Linked DNA regions of Homo sapiens: all the other regions are linked to region 2. The links are contacts of gene promoters, found by promoter capture Hi-C in blood cells and fetal thymus (Javierre and others, 2016). All regions are on one chromosome and are shown on one strand. Each heading gives the region's core, a stretch centred on a gene start or on the middle of the fragment in contact. The rest is flanking DNA. Distances are from core to core; before and after follow the strand shown.

Region 1 (3,782 bases), core at 780-3,279, 280 kb after region 2:
GCTGTGGATACTAACAGGGTGGGAGGGGACAGCTGGGTGGATCATATGCTGGAGTTGCTTTGAAACTGACTGTGGCCCTCCAAATAAAGGCAGAAAACAGGCATTAGCACTGTTCTTTAAATCAGGGGTCCCCAATCCCCCCCACCACGGACCGGTTAGGAACCCGGCCCCAAAGCAGGAGCTGAGCAGTGGGCAAGCGAGCATTACTGGCTGAGCTCCGCCTAGCGTCAGATCTGCTGCATTAAATTCTCACAGGAGTGCGAACCCTATTGTGAACTGCGCATGCGCAGGACCAAGACTAGCTTTTGCTCTCCTTTTGAGAATCTATTGCGTGCCTGATTATTTGATTTCTAACACCTTCATCCCGAAACCATCCCCACACCCCTCTCCATCCGTAGAAAAATTGTATTCCACTAAACTGGTCCCTGGTGCCAAAAACGTTGCGGATCTCTGCTTTAAATGGTTTAAATGTTACATTGTAACGAAGAGTGGAGGACCGCCTCACTTGGAGCCGACGGCACCTGCGCACAGCGAAGCTGGTTGAAGGGCCCCCGACGGGGTGGGACAGGTGTAGCCTCCTCACCTCATTTTCCCCTGCGCTTCACAGACATCTAGCAGACTGCCTGCACCATCAAGATCTGGACTGCAGAGCACGTCTTTCACCACCCGTGGGAAACTGTTACAACAGCTGCAATGCACAAATACCCAAGCCCTGCGAACCTGAGCAGGGTGTGGGTTGATGTGTTGGAAGGATATATAGATCCCTCTGGAAAGTTGCAAGGCCACAGACTTCTCTGCACAGAGTGGGAACTGCAAGTCCCTTACTGTTGCAGCAAGAGCCAAAACATAGTCTTCAGGACCCAGAAAAAAAACTATTTTGACTCAAGAAACCACAATCATTGTGAAAAGAATCAGCCTCAGCAGTTACCTTGAAGAACTGAAGACAAGTACAATATCTTCAAATGCTAATAAAGGCTGAGAAGCACTGGAATGGGTAATACTTAAACTACATGTTAAGATTGAGAAATTGCTGGCTTCAAAAAGAGGAAGCATAAGAACTCGGATAGTAGCAGCATCATTTACAGAGAAATGATAATGGATGTTGGAAGACATCAAGTACCCCAGGTGTCTCCAACCTTGCAATCTGTTATTTTAAAACCGTATCTTAGGTAGAATTTTTAAAAAATAGACTGATAGAAGACTTTGTGACATGGAATAAAAACAAAGAGGTTCAGGGTGTCTAAATAAAAGGGATCATCTAAAATAAGTGTTGTTTGAAATGATTGTCTAATTTTGAGAGTTCCAGTATTTATGTGAAAATTTAAAAATTTTTCAAAAAGTACTTGGCAGTTTGCATTGACATTGAATCATTTTGAGGTAGAATTTTAAAGCTTTTAACACCTGGGAACACTACCTGACTTTGGTGGAACTTCAGAACAAAGCAGAGCCACCTCTTATATACACACAATTGCCCTGCTGCCATAAACTTCAACAGCTTGCATAAGGAACTTCACTTTAAAAGGAGAAATTGCTCAGTTTTAAATGATATTAATGTGTATAAAATAACTTGCTCTGCTATAAACCACCATTAAAAACCAGTGTTTTGGTTTAGTACTTGAATATTTTTGGAGTAAAAATTATCCCTAAAGTAGTATATGACTCCCAGAAACATATGCTTTTATTATAATAAAAAGTAATATATTGATTTGTCAAAGTTTTATAACATAGTAAAGGTATTACCTTCCTTGGATTTGTACTTTATGCTTTAATATGCTGTACCATGAGCTGGCTACATTAATTGGAAAAATAAATTCATTACTTGAAAAACAAAAGAGAAAATGAAGAGTGGGGATAGACTAACGGGGACTGAAAGAAGATCCCTAGCCTTGTGCCTTCTGAGTTAACAACCACAGGGTTCCAGAGCATCAACTCCAGATCAGACAATTCCAGGCAGCTACAGATGTCTGCCTTGGTGAGTCTTGCCCAGGATCTGGAAGTCCAAGATGAAAGCGCCAGTGATTCAGCTCCTGGTGAGGGCTGTCTTCCTGTCATGCCAATGGCCATGTTGTAGCTGTGTTCTCACATGGCACAGAAGGAGAGAGAGAAGTGGGTAGAGGGGCAAGAGAAGAAAGGGAGAGAAGGAGAGGGACCTGGTATCTCTTCCTCTTCTCATAAGGGCACTAATCCCATTATGAAACCCCAACCCTCATGACCTCATCTAAACTTAATTGTCTCCCAAAGGCCCCATCTCCAAATACCATCACTTGGAGATTAGTTAATCAAAATTATCATGAATTTTGGGGGAACACAATTCAGTGCAGAACACCAAGTGTATGGGAGGCTCTCATAATCTCTGCCCATCTCAGGTCCTGCAGCAACTAAGACTCATTCCTTCTTGTGGGCATCCCAGGAGAAAGATTTATGTGTCTTCACAACTTTAGTGTAAAGATTTGGTGTAAAGGTTTCCAGCCTTTACACCAAAATCCTTGGGCAGAGATGAAAAACATGCAGTAGAGAATACACTTGGGACTTTTACACTTTTCTGTCCCCTCAAATGTTAGAAATCAAAACCCATAAACTAGATGACAGCATTAATCTAGTCTAGCTGTGATTACATCAATCTTTTCACATAGTGGCAGTTCTAAGTATCAGTATAGAGAAGCTTAGATGTTGCATCTTATTGGAACGTGGAACTAGAGCTGTGTTTGCTTTGCACTCATTATTAGACTAATTACATGTCAATTATCCATGTCATAAAAAATAAGCAGATGGTGAAAGATGAGTTAGAGTGTTTTTGTGGTTTGGATATGGAGGGGGCTTCCCATCTTATCATCCTCATTTTCTGTTCTGAAGTCTCAAAATCTACTTAAAAAAAAATAAAACCACAATCCCAATCCTCTGATAACCCATTATTCCATTAACCAATTAACCGTTAATCCATAAATGGATTAAGACATCAAACGGGCAGAGCCCTCAAGACCCAATCACTGCTTAAAGGCCCTACCTCTCAATATTGCTACATTGGGGATTAAGTTTCAACATGAGTTTCAGAAGGGACAAATATTCAAACCACAACATCCCTGAATGGCAATTAATTGTAAAGAGAAATTAATTGTTATCTTAGATGACATGATCGTGATTTCAATTTGAAACCTTTTGAAGGTCTAGGGGATAAAGGGACTATGAATGCAGCCCTGGCTTTGGCTCCCTCAGGGTGGCCTCTGTGTGCAACACCCAGGTTAGATTATCTGCTAAGATTTCCTCTGGGCTGGCCAATCTGAAAGCAATATGGAATTGTGTAATCCAAGGGCTCCTGAACACAAGGGAAAAGGTGTTTCATCCAGTCTCACAGCAGGAGACATCAGCTTTTGAGTTTTTACACTTTTCTGGCCAAGTGCCTGGTCCTAATCAGATCATAGGAAGCATAGTGGTGATATTAATTCTAGAAGCAAATTGTAACAGAAGATGGAATTACTGGTATTAACATAAAACCCTAACATCTTAGACGAAACTCAATCTGTGATAGGGTGGTTTAAGTGATAAAAAGAAAAGGTACTCCTTAACCTGTGGAGGGAAAGCTCTTTTGAGGAACCCTGGTTAATAGTTTATTATTGCCCCAAACCACATTGCTAGTCCTGGAGCAGAGACTGCAATCTTGTTCTCCAGGCAGAGAAAAGCTTGAGGAGAGGTGTGTCCTCAAAGACAACTTGGGATGTTAGTGAGAAGCAGGGCAGTGGTAGTCACTCAATTCTTTCATTTCCTTCTTGTCTTTTATTTTCTAT
Region 2 (3,564 bases), core at 202-2,701:
ACCATAAACAAATATTCACCTTAGATTTCCATTTGAAATCTTGACTTGGAATCACTTTTTTTCATCTGGTTTCGTTTGTTTCCCTTTTGGATTCCCGCGGCCTCAATTGCAAACGCGATTTGTGTAATTTCCAAACTTGTCAGAACTGCACGGGTAAGAGCTTAGAATGTGATTCATTCGCTCTTATTTTGAAACGGGATGAGGAATGGGGTGGGGGAGGGGGGGTAGACAGAGAGCCCTCTTGTCTACTGTACTCAGGAGGACGAAAACAGGGGAGGGAAGGGGAAAAGAGAGGAGAAAGGGAGAAAGGGAGGGAGGGAGGAGGAGAAGAGAAGGGGAGAGGAGGAGGAGGAAAGGAGGGAGGGAGAAGAGGGAAAAGGAGGGAAGGAGGGAAGGAAAAAACAGAAAGGAAAGAAGTGCTATAGCAGAATCTTTGCTGCCCATGTTATCTATTGCCTTGACTTCTCCATCTGCCAAGATGTGTCAAGCACGCAGAAGCTGGCTGGAATCGATATTTTAAAGACCCGGTTGCGATCTTTTCCTGGTCGTATCAAGGAGTCCTGGAGCTTCTAATATTCCTGGAGGGATATCCAGGAAGAGGAAAAGAGGCTCTTCCTTACTTCGTGCGGTCTTCCAAAAGAAGCACCTTTCGCTGGGGAGAGTCGCGGCGTGGGGTGCAATGGAAGGTTTTGTTCTCCTGGGCCACATGCGTTAGATGTCAGTTCTCTCCACCAGCAGCACCGGCCGGCGCGCGTGGGGAGATCACGCCGGTCTTCTGCCCTTGTAACAAACGCTCCAGATTTGGTCTGGTGCCTTAGGGCTCTGGTCCAGCGCACCCGCTGTGCGCAACGCTAGGCGCTAAGCTGCGCTCCTCGGCTCACGTGTGGACGCGCACGCAGACACGAGTGTCCACACCATACAGAGACATGGGTGCACACACGCGCGCACATAGACATGGGCGCCGCACATGACACGGGCACCACACATGACACGGGCACACACGCGCGAGCACGCTCTCGCCCTGGCTCTAATGCCCCCTCCTCTCGCTTGCGGATCGGCCTGGGCAGGTGTGGGGGTACGCCCCAGAAAGCGCCTAACCTTCTTCTGACCCCACTTCGCAGACACCCCGTGGCAGGGCTTCCTTTCTTCCTTGGGTCGCGGGGAGGAGAGGCGCCTCCTCCTCAGCCACCCAGGTCTGCAGCCTAGCAGAGGAAGGGTGGCGGGGTGGGGGTGCTGGCGGCGAGTCCCCCAGCCCCTCGCTTACCTTCGTGGCGAGGCCAGCTCTTGGGCTTCGCTGCACGGCGCCAGGCTAGGCGCGCTGGGTTGTTGCCTCTGGAGCAGGAGCGGTCGGTGTGTGGATGTCCCGAGGTGAGGGCGCCGCTGTCGCGCTTGAGGCTCCCGGAGCTGTCAGGGGCGGCCGACCTGACCGGCAGCGGCCCAGGGCAAACCCCGCCCTCCGGCCTAGGCCGGCTCCGCAGCGGGGACCGAGACGCCCCACAGCGTTTCCTGAAGGACCAATCCGGAGCGAGGGGCTGGCGTGGGGAAGGAGGGACGGGGGGCCTGTAGTGCACCCGGACGCCGGCCTGGACCTTGTAAGCTGGTTTCTATGGCAGCCAGGAGGGAGGGGCGAGAGGGAGGGGACGCGCGGCGCAGGGACACCCAGTGCAGTCGCTCGGGGAGGGGGGTGATTGGGCCTGACGCAAAGAGGACCCCTTCTAGAGTCTGGATGGGAGCAGCTACACGGCCGAAAGCGGGCTGACACAGCTCCCACCGACGTACGCCTCGTGCCGAGCGGTTCCAGCGCTTCAGCAAGGGTTTCCATGTCCTTGGGAAACCGTGACCCAGTAATCCTCCCAACAGAAAGGGGGTTTCCAGCAAACCACCGTGACAGCTCCTCCGGGTGAGTCGGGCAGGGTTTAGGTTCTGCAGAAAGAAGTGCTAATGTCACCCTCTGTCTGGATTCCTGGCATACATCGGTTCCCCTGGTGCCACTTTGTCACTGGCTCCCTAATCTCCTGCTAGGGAGATACTCTCGGCTGTGACCCTCAGATGCCAAAGATTATTTTTCTAGTTTATAAACTAGAAATACCGTCACTGGATTGAACGTAGAGTTGGAAATGGGATTCGCAAAATACTAAATAAAACATACCGGTTATTTACTGAAGTTTAAGCCCTTCCTTTTACAGAGAGAGAAAAAAAAAACTGAGTTCAGAGGGGTCAGTTAACTTAGCAAGGGTCACACAACTGATTAATGGCAGAGCCAGGACTAGACACCCTAAGTCATAGTTCTGCGAGCATTCTTTCTACTTCCTCCTGCTCTCCATCCTGTATTGATTGCCAGAGCAATATTTACAAGAGCAAAACTGTTAAGTAGCAACATAACCCATGTCTACAATTCTTTTATGGTAGAAACTAGGGAACCCCAAAATTCCTTTTTTGCTATTTGCCAGGCATTGTAATAAACTCTTTTACAAAGAGTAACTGATTAAATCCTCATGATAATCTATGGGTTAGGTACTGTTACTGTCATCCTTGTTTTGATAGATGAAGAAACTGAAGCCCAGAGAGGTTACAGGATTTGATCGAGATCACACAACTGTTGAATGCTGGCTCTGGGACTCTAACCCAGTTTGTTTGACTCCAGAGTTGGTGTTCTTCATTACTTTGTCTCTGCTGCCTGTTTGTGTGATGATTAAAGGGGTCAGGAACGGGAAGGGCAAGAAATAAAAACCTTGGACAGCTCCGTGCACTGACGGTTGAGATTGGAAAGAAAATTGAAAGAACCTGAAACAACTGCTTCCTTGGCTTCTGAGAGTGGTCATCTATTTATGTAGAACAAGGGTTCTCTCGAGAAAATTTGTTTTTAAAGAGACATCCCCTCCTCAAAAGACAAGAGGTTTGTTGTTTTTTTTTTTTAAGAGTAATCTTTAAAATAGTACATGCCATCAGTCTATTTTCTTTCTAATGCAATAAAATGCAGGGAGAAACTCTACATATTTTTAAAGATATAAAAGACCCTTGAATTCAAATAAACAGAATAAAATTTCATAGAGAAATTGCCTAGAAACCAAGAGCCTCAAACACCCAATCTGACAGAGGCTCTCTGTGACATAGATCCTCACCATCACACCCCAAAGAGCATGCACAAGGCAGAGGTGATGATAGGTTCTAGTAGCTTAAAAGGTTACTGAACACTTTAGGCTAATACCATCACATTGGGAGTTAAGATTTCAATATATGAATTGGGAGATACAAAAATTTAGTCCATAACAGAACCCTTCCCAACTTTTATCTTTCTTTCAGGAATCTCTATTTTATACTATGTGTGTCAGACCTTCTCATTCTATTTCATGTCTTTTCTCAGATTCTCTAGATTTTTAACATTTTGTGCTACATTCTAGGTAATTTCTTCAGATCTACCTTCTGTTCATGAATTTTCTCTTGCACTAACCTGCACACTGACTTTATGATAATGCAAATATAATTAAATCAAGAGGTTTGAGAGTGCCGATTTCAGTATCTTTCACAGCAGGGGTGAATTGATAGCTTAAAATTGAATCACTT
Region 3 (4,028 bases), core at 956-3,455, 370 kb before region 2:
AAATAGTTCCATCACAAGGTTTTTCTCATGCTACCTACTTTTTTAATAACCCCATCTACTTGCCTCTAAATTCCACTCCCTCCTTAACCCCTGGCAACCACAAATCTGCTCTCCATCTTCATAATTTTGTCATAAATTGAATCATACAATTGCTCTTGAGATTGAAATTTTGTGTTCAGCATAATTCCCTTGAGATCCATCAACATTCTTATATGAGCAGTTGTTCCTTTTTTTTGCTGAGTAGCATTCTGTGGTATGAATGTACCACAGTTTAACTATTCATCAAAGGATATTTGGGTTCTTTCTAATTTGGGGCTCTTATTAATGATGCCACTCTAAATATTTGGGTACAGGATTTTATGTGAATATAAATCTTAATTCTCTGTGAGAAATGTCCAGCAGTGCAATTGCTAGGTAGTACAGTACTTAATATGTAGAGTTTTTTAAAGAAACTGTTTTCTAAAGTGACTATAGCATTTTACATTCTCACCAGCAATGTATGAGCAACACAGTTCCTAGTTTCTCTACATCCTTGAATTTGCATTGTCACTATTGTTTATTTAAGCTATTCGAATAAGTAGGTAGTGAAATCTCAGTGGTTTTAAAAAAATTTTCCTACTGGCTAATTATGTTGAACATTTTTCATAGGCTTATGCTATCTGTATATTCCCTTCAGTGAAGTGTTCTTTCATTTATGTTTGGCCCTTTTCTAACTGAACTGTCCTTTTACAGTTGAGTTAGGTGTTTTGTTTGTTTGGGTTTTTTTCAGACGGAGTCACGCTCAACCCAGGCTGGAGTGCAGTGGTGCAATCTCGGCTCACTGCAACCTCTGCCTCCCGGGTTCAAGCGATTCCCCTGCCTCAGCCTCCCAAGTAGCTGGGATTACAAGCACGCATCACCATGCCTGCTAATTTTTGTATTTTTAGTAGAGACGGGGTTTCACATGTTGTCCAGGTTGGTCTCGAACTCCTGACCTCAGGTAATCTGTCCGCCTCAGCCTCCCATAGTGCTGGGATCGCACCTGGCTATAGTACTCTCAATACAGTTGAGTTCTGAGAGTACTTTATATATTCTAGATACAAGTCTTTTGTCAAATATGTGGTGCCTTCATCCATTTTTGTTGCTATAAAGGAATAGCTGAGGCTGGGTAATTTATAAAGAAAAGGGTTTCATTTGGCTCACTATTCTGCAGGCTGTACTAGAAGCATGGCACCAACATCTGCTTCTGGTGAGGGCTTCAGCCTGCTTCTATGCATGGCAGAAAGTGAAGGGGAGACAGTGTGCAGAGATTACATGGCAAGAGAGGAAGCATGAGACAGGGGGAGTGTGCCAGGCTCTTTTCAACAACCAGCTCTTGGGGAAACTCCTTGGGAACTAGTAAAACCATAACTCATTCGTTACTGTGAGAATGGCACCATGCCATTCATGAGGAATCTGCCACCATGACCCAAACGCCTTCCATTAGGCCCCACCTCCAACATTCAGGATCAAGTTTCAACAGGAGGCTTGGAGGGTCAAATATACAAACTATACCATGTGGTTTGCAAATATTTCCTCTTGCATATTTATGAAAATTTTCTCCTGTTAGCTGGCCTTGAAGGCTGTACTGTCTACTCCCATAAGGTCTAATGATGATCCTGAGGTCAATAAGTTCTAAAAAAACAGTCTTTTTTTTTTTTTTTTTTTTTTTACCATCACTAGACTGGTGACCTAAGGAAAGGCAGGACCATTGCAGGTGAGTCCTATTTCTGTTAAAAGCTTATTATGGACTAAGTACTGGGTTGGACCTAAAGGATTAAAAGGCATCCTCTGTCTTCAGAGGGCTAGTTTAGGGAAGGAGACATTTAAATAAACCAAATACTAACGATAACAATCTGGCATGCTAAGTACCAAGACAGTTTTCCCAGGGTATACTTATCACAAGGGAGAGAATCTAAGATTAGGCAGCTTGGGAAGTCTTACTGGAGAATGCCTTTCAAGTACAGTTTAAGGAAACATTTTTTTCATAGTTCACAGCAGGTCCTTTTCCATATTACAACATATTTTCCAATTTGTCCAAATTTAGTTCTACTCTCCTTTCACCATAAATTAATAAAAAAGGCATACACGTGGATGAGGAGCACTTTGATGATTCTCTTTAGGGAGTTCCACATGGTGTTCACACGTTCATGTGTTTCTGTCTATGCATTTTGCAATACCTGCCAGTTAGCTCTAAAACAGTCCCAAGATGGATCTGAGCCCTTGCGGTATCTTGGCACCTTTTATGTAAAGTGAAAATATTGGAATGTCTATCTCACAGGATATGAGGATAAAATAAAATGATAAAATAAAAGCTCTTAAAAGGTGACTGACGCATAATAAATATTAGATATTTTTATTATCATGATGCAAAATCCATTCGTGTTATCTCCAAGTCCACCATCCACACATTATAAGAATAGGGCAAAAGTTATACAGTAACAAATACAGAGAAGGCAAAGGATATCTTACCTAATTTTCCTAACAAGAGGGTGTGAAGATGTCGTGACATCACCATGGATGCAGAATGGCCTTATCTTCACATGGGAAAGTCCCAGTTGTTAGAAAAGGTGCTGTTCATCATAAAAGTTTTAAGGGGAAATGAAAAGGTGGTGAGTGCAAACAAAAGCTTGGGGCAGAGTTGGGGCATCTACTTCAGTGGAACATAACTCATTGTTAGTTTTTTAGCATAGTTTATGGGTCTTTCCTGTATGATAAAAAAGTCCAGGCAAGAAGTGACTGGTGACCACATACAATAATGAATTTGAAAATATTAAAATTGTAATTTTTAAATTGTAATCTTGTCTCTGCAATATATGCTGAGTGTTACCACACAGTTATTATTTTACAGATGAGGAAAGTGAGGCTCAGAGAAGCTAAACCCCTTACTTACTCAAAATCACACAGACAGCAATAGTCAAGAGTGGAATCCCAACTAAGCTCTGGCAGACTGAATCCTAAACTTTCCGTACACCGAAGAGCCACACGTACTGCTGGCTTCCTTCCCTGACTTCATTATTTTGCCTAACATCAATAGCATGAACCATTTATTCATGATTGCCCTCGGTGAAGCCATTTTCTCATTCGTTTAGGGGAAGACATTGTTTTCTTTATTAATGAGAAGAGAAAACGGTTAACAAGAGTTTGTGTCCCTAATTGAAATGATTCTTAAGATGAAAAGATAGAAAAACATGAAACCCTGCTTAAAACAAAAGGCTAAAATCAGAATTTATGGAGATGGATCAATCCAACAGTAAAGAAATCAATTTTTCCTTCCTTGTCGTTACTTATATTCATCTATCCTTTATTTGGCATTAATACTGTCAGGCCTGACAAAAACAACAATTTACATATTAATAAAATCTAGAATTGTGCTGTGCAACGCAGTAGCCACTAGCCACATGTGGCTCTTGAGCCCTTGAAATGTGCCAATCCCGACTAAGATGTGCCATAAGTGTAAAATATACACTGGATTTCAACTAGTATCTAAAAAACAGAGAAAATATTTAATATTTTAAATCGCATGTTAAAAAACCATTTTGAACATAATGGATTAAATAAATTTAAATTAATTTCACCTGGTTTTTGTTTTGTTTTGTTTTGTTTTTTGAGACAGAGTTTGGCTCTTGTTGCCCAGGCTGGAGTGCAACGGTACGATCTCGGCTCACTGCAACCTCTGCCTCCTGCGTTCAAGCGATTCTCCTGCCTCAGCCTCCAGAATAGCTAGGATTACAGGCATGTGCCACCACGCCCGGCTAACTTTGTATTTTTAGTAGAGACGGGGTTTCTCCATGTTGGTCTGGCTGGTCTCGAACTCCCGACCTCAGGTGATCCGCCCCCCTCGGCCTCCCAAAGTGCTGGGATTACAGGCGTGAGCCACTGCGCCTGGCCACACCTGTTTCTTTTCACTCATTTAATGTGGCTTCTCCAAAATGTAAAATTACATAAGTGGCTTGCATTTGTGGCTCGCATTATATTTTCATTGGACAGCACTGATGCAAGATGAAAAA
Region 4 (3,672 bases), core at 20-2,519, 320 kb before region 2:
ATACACATGCCCATCTGAGGCTTTCTTCCTTTTTCCGGTGGAGTGTATCAGAAAAATCATACTTCATCACTTTTGTCTCTTAACCGGCATGCCCAGGAAGTTGCTTCTCTCTGGGGCCTGCATTCAATTAACATTTTGATGTTAACAGGTGTGGGCCATCAGGAAATGGCCTTTCCCTGGCGCTGCCAAATTTTCATTTTTAGAGAGGCCATGTGATAATTGCTGAACCATCACCCAACATTTCTAGTGGGTGGGTGGCAGGGGAGAGCCCTCTCCTGCCTTGCTCATGCCTAACTACCTGTAACAGATTCAGTTCGCCATTTTATAATGTATGAGCATGATCTGTGGTCCCCCAAAACAATTACAGTAGTGACATCAAAGATCAGTGATCACACAGATCACTCTAACAGATACAAAAATAATGAAAAAGTTTGAAATATTGTGGGAATTACCAAAATATGTCAGAGACACAAAGTGAGCACATGATGTTGGAAAAACATGGCACCCATACACTTGCTCCATCAAGGTTGCCTCAAACCTTCCATTTGTAGTAAACTCAGTATCTGCAAAGCACAATAAAATGCACAATAAAACAAGGTATGCCTCTCTATGCTCTCACAAACCTCTGTATTTTATCTTAGAAACACTCACAACTGTAATAAATGATTGTTTATTCTTTCTTTCCAGTTAATCTCTAGCTCTGATCCTCACCCGCAAAGAACTGGGCCACCTTCCCTGCTTTATCCCCACTATGCCTAAACACACAGTGAGTGTTCCATAAACACTTGTTTAGTGGCAATAAATATAGCAGACACATTTATTTGCCACTTTATAAGGAAAAAAGGTGCAGATACATAGACGACCTATTTTCTGATACCAAATTAGGAAGAGTTCTCCATCTTTGGCCAAGTTTTTTTTTTTCTAAACAGCTTTACTGAAGTATAATCGTTTTTTACCTTATTTAAAAATAAGTACCACTCCACTAAAACGCGCTCTGTGGTTAGTTCTCGGCTGGACCGTTCAAAAGGCTGATCCTTACAGCCTTTATTATTAATACAACCAGGTCGGGACTGCTTTTGCGTGGGTCACCAGAAGTAAAAAATCAAAGAGGAGCCAACCCCATTCCGAACAAGGAAACACCCGTCCCCTTCCTACACCAATTCCTGCTCCGCCCTTCGTAGGGAACGCAGCGAGGGCAGCCTCCGGAGTGGAGGGGCGGGACTTCCGGCCCTTCCTGTTGTGGAGGGGCGGGACTTCCTGTCTTCCCTGTTGCGGAGCTCTGAAGCGGCTCCCTGAGGGCGCTGGTTTTGAACTGGTCTTGTGCGGTTTGCGCTTTCTCTTAGTGGTTACAGTTGGCGCTGTCTCCGCTTTCCTGTTTCGTGGCGGGCATCTTGGCCAAAACACTCTCCCTGCCACCTTATTCCTCTAGGGTTGTGATTTTTTTCTTTCACCAAGAAATATCACTCGCTGGTAATTTGTCAAACTGAAGAAACCCCTGAAGAAGCAGTGGTGGGCAGGCGCCGACGCTGCGGCTTCCAGAGCATTTTGGCAAATCAAAGCCAGGGACCGTTGCTGGGCCTCATTTCCGCAACTTTTCGGCTCCGAACTGCTGTGAGTGGAAGACTTTTGGTGGTTGTTTTGATCAGGCTCCTTCTGTAACTAGAGACTATAGCATTTTGAAAGAAATGAGATTCTCATTCATGTCAAGAACAGACTTGTGGATTTTTGAGTGTTAAACATACCCTGACGTAATGTGCTGGGTGATGAGAACGCAAGCGGGAATGAGACTGTAGAGATGAGAATGGCAGTGTGGGTTGGAGCCGGGTTATGGTTTCCTATGGTATGCCAAGAACCTTAGTCATTACACTGTTTGTTGTGTATGCTTGATTATTTAAAATTAGAAAACCGCCTCAGTAAAGCTATTAAAAAAAAGACCTGACCAAAGATAGACTATTTTTCCCAAATTGGAATCAGAAAATGTCTTCCATCTATGTATCAGCACCCGTTTTTTCCCCTAAAATACCAAGTAGACATACCCGATATATACGTGTGTGTTTATATATATATCTGTAATCTATATTGCCATTTGATAAGTACGTAAACAGGTGATGTAAAGCACTTGGTATGGTGTGACTTGTGGAAAGTTACCTATGTCATCAATACTAGAGATGGATTGGAGAGAGAAGAAATTCCAGACAGTTGCAGGAGTTGGAGAGTCTATGGCCTGAAAAAGAGAAAGAGGTAGAGAGAGTCAGGTTCCAAAGACAGAAAATCAACAGGACTTGTTACAGGGGCATGGAGTGGAAAGTCAAGTTTTAGAATATTGGCTGCTAACAATGAGACACCATTAATTCAAATTGCAAATTCAAGAGGAGCAGTTTACTTATTTTTCATCATTCAAATATTTATTGTGCCATTTACTATTTGCCTAATACTGTTTTAGATGCCAGAGATACTGTTACATATAAGACAGATAAGGCCCCTGCTTCGGTTGACTTTATATCCTAGTGGGAGAAAATAAAAAGCAAGTAAATAATCAATTTTGATGATAGATTCTATGAAGAAAAAACTTGAAGAGGGATGACAAATGATTGGGAGATGTTTGGGAGTAACTTTAACTTAGTTGGTCGTTGGGCCCTTGTAGGAGTTACATTTGTGCTGAAACCTTGATGATGATAAAGAACCAGCCTTGTGATTAGCCAAGGAAAAGACAAGGCAGGCAGAAAGAACTGCAAAGATGGGAAAGAGCTTGTTTAAAGAACATTTAAAATGCCAATGTATCTAAAGTGCCCTGTAGAAGTAGGAGAGAGTTGAGAAATGACATTGGGAGAGGTAGATAGGACCAGACTGTGTGGCCTTTGTAGGCCATAGTTTAGGAGTTTGGATTTTAAGTAGAAATGGAAGGTACTGGTGGGTTTTAAGCCACGAAGTGATAGATGTGATTTTCATTTTAAAAGATCCCTCTGGGCACTACTGTATGCAGACTGGATTTGAGGGAAGAGATGAGAGTGAAAGTGCAATTAGGGGGTATTACAGAAGCCTGCTTTTGGTAGGAGTGATTAAGTTCCATTTTAGTTATGTTGAGTTTGATTTATCTATGGGACAGGGACATAGAGAGCGGTCTAGCAGGCAGCCACCTGAAAGCTCTGTGAGAGGTCAGGTACATTTAGTTCTCTAGAGAAAGAAAATAATTAAAAGTGTGTGAATCTCCTCAGGAGAGACCATGTGGTTAAATATTTACTTATATCCTGACATATCCTCAGAAGATTACAGATGATATCACCTACAGCTGATTACATACATTAAAGGGGGTAAGGTTAAAAAAAGACAAGGTGGGCCAGGTGCGGTGGCTCACGCCTGTAATCCCAGCACTTTGGGAGGCCAAAACGGGTGGATCACGAGGTGTGGAGTTCCAGACCATTCTGGCCAACATGGTGAAAACCTGTCTCTACTAAAAATACAAAAAATGAGCCAGGCGTGGTGGCACGCACCTGTAGTCCCAGCTACTCAGGAGGCTGAGGCAGGAGAATCACTTGAACCCGGGAGGCAGAGGTTGCAGTGAGCCCAGATTGCGCCACTCTACTCCAGCCTGGCAACAGAGCAAGACTCTGTCTCAAAAAAAAAAAAAAAAAAAAAAAAAAAAAAAAAAAAAAAAAGACAAGGTGGGGCATA

The links. The method cuts DNA at HindIII sites, captures the fragments that hold promoters and counts their contacts. A CHiCAGO score of 5 or more calls a contact.
Region 1: a fragment that was not itself captured here is called in contact with the fragment with the promoter of NIM1K in region 2 in 2 of 17 cell types (monocytes and activated CD4 T cells); the score reaches 5.5 in monocytes.
Region 3: a contact is called between a fragment that was not itself captured here and the fragment with the promoter of NIM1K in region 2, in 1 of 17 cell types (monocytes). The highest score is 5.3, in monocytes.
Region 4: a contact is called between the fragment with the promoter of C5orf34 here and the fragment with the promoter of NIM1K in region 2, in 12 of 17 cell types (erythroblasts, M1 macrophages, monocytes and 9 more). The highest score is 11.6, in erythroblasts.

What each region holds. Positions count from the first base shown.
Region 1 is chr5:42,905,516-42,909,297 of GRCh38, reverse strand. It overlaps the pseudogene PRELID3BP5. Among named protein-coding and RNA genes, the nearest start is that of FLJ32255, 86 kb to the left of the region's middle. RefSeq lists enhancers at 530-589, 720-769. The HindIII fragment of the contact is 1,271 bases long and covers 1,394-2,664 here.
Region 2 is chr5:43,190,112-43,193,675 of GRCh38, reverse strand. NIM1K (NIM1 serine/threonine protein kinase) reads right to left here and starts at 1,451. Exons shown (of 4, transcript NM_153361.4): 1 at 1,265-1,451. RefSeq lists an enhancer at 426-1,135 and a silencer at 1,471-1,610. The HindIII fragment of the contact is 11,127 bases long and covers 1-3,564 here.
Region 3 is chr5:43,557,723-43,561,750 of GRCh38, reverse strand. No RefSeq gene overlaps it. Among named protein-coding and RNA genes, the nearest start is that of PAIP1, 2.7 kb to the right of the region's middle. The HindIII fragment of the contact is 889 bases long and covers 1,761-2,649 here.
Region 4 is chr5:43,512,745-43,516,416 of GRCh38, reverse strand. It overlaps C5orf34 (chromosome 5 open reading frame 34), which reads left to right and starts at 1,269. Exons shown (of 13, transcript NM_198566.4): 1 at 1,269-1,611. It overlaps LOC124900190 (a long non-coding RNA gene), which reads right to left. Exons shown (of 3, transcript XR_007058764.1): 2 at 1-2,224. RefSeq lists an enhancer at 1,502-1,661. The HindIII fragment of the contact is 8,167 bases long and covers 1-3,672 here.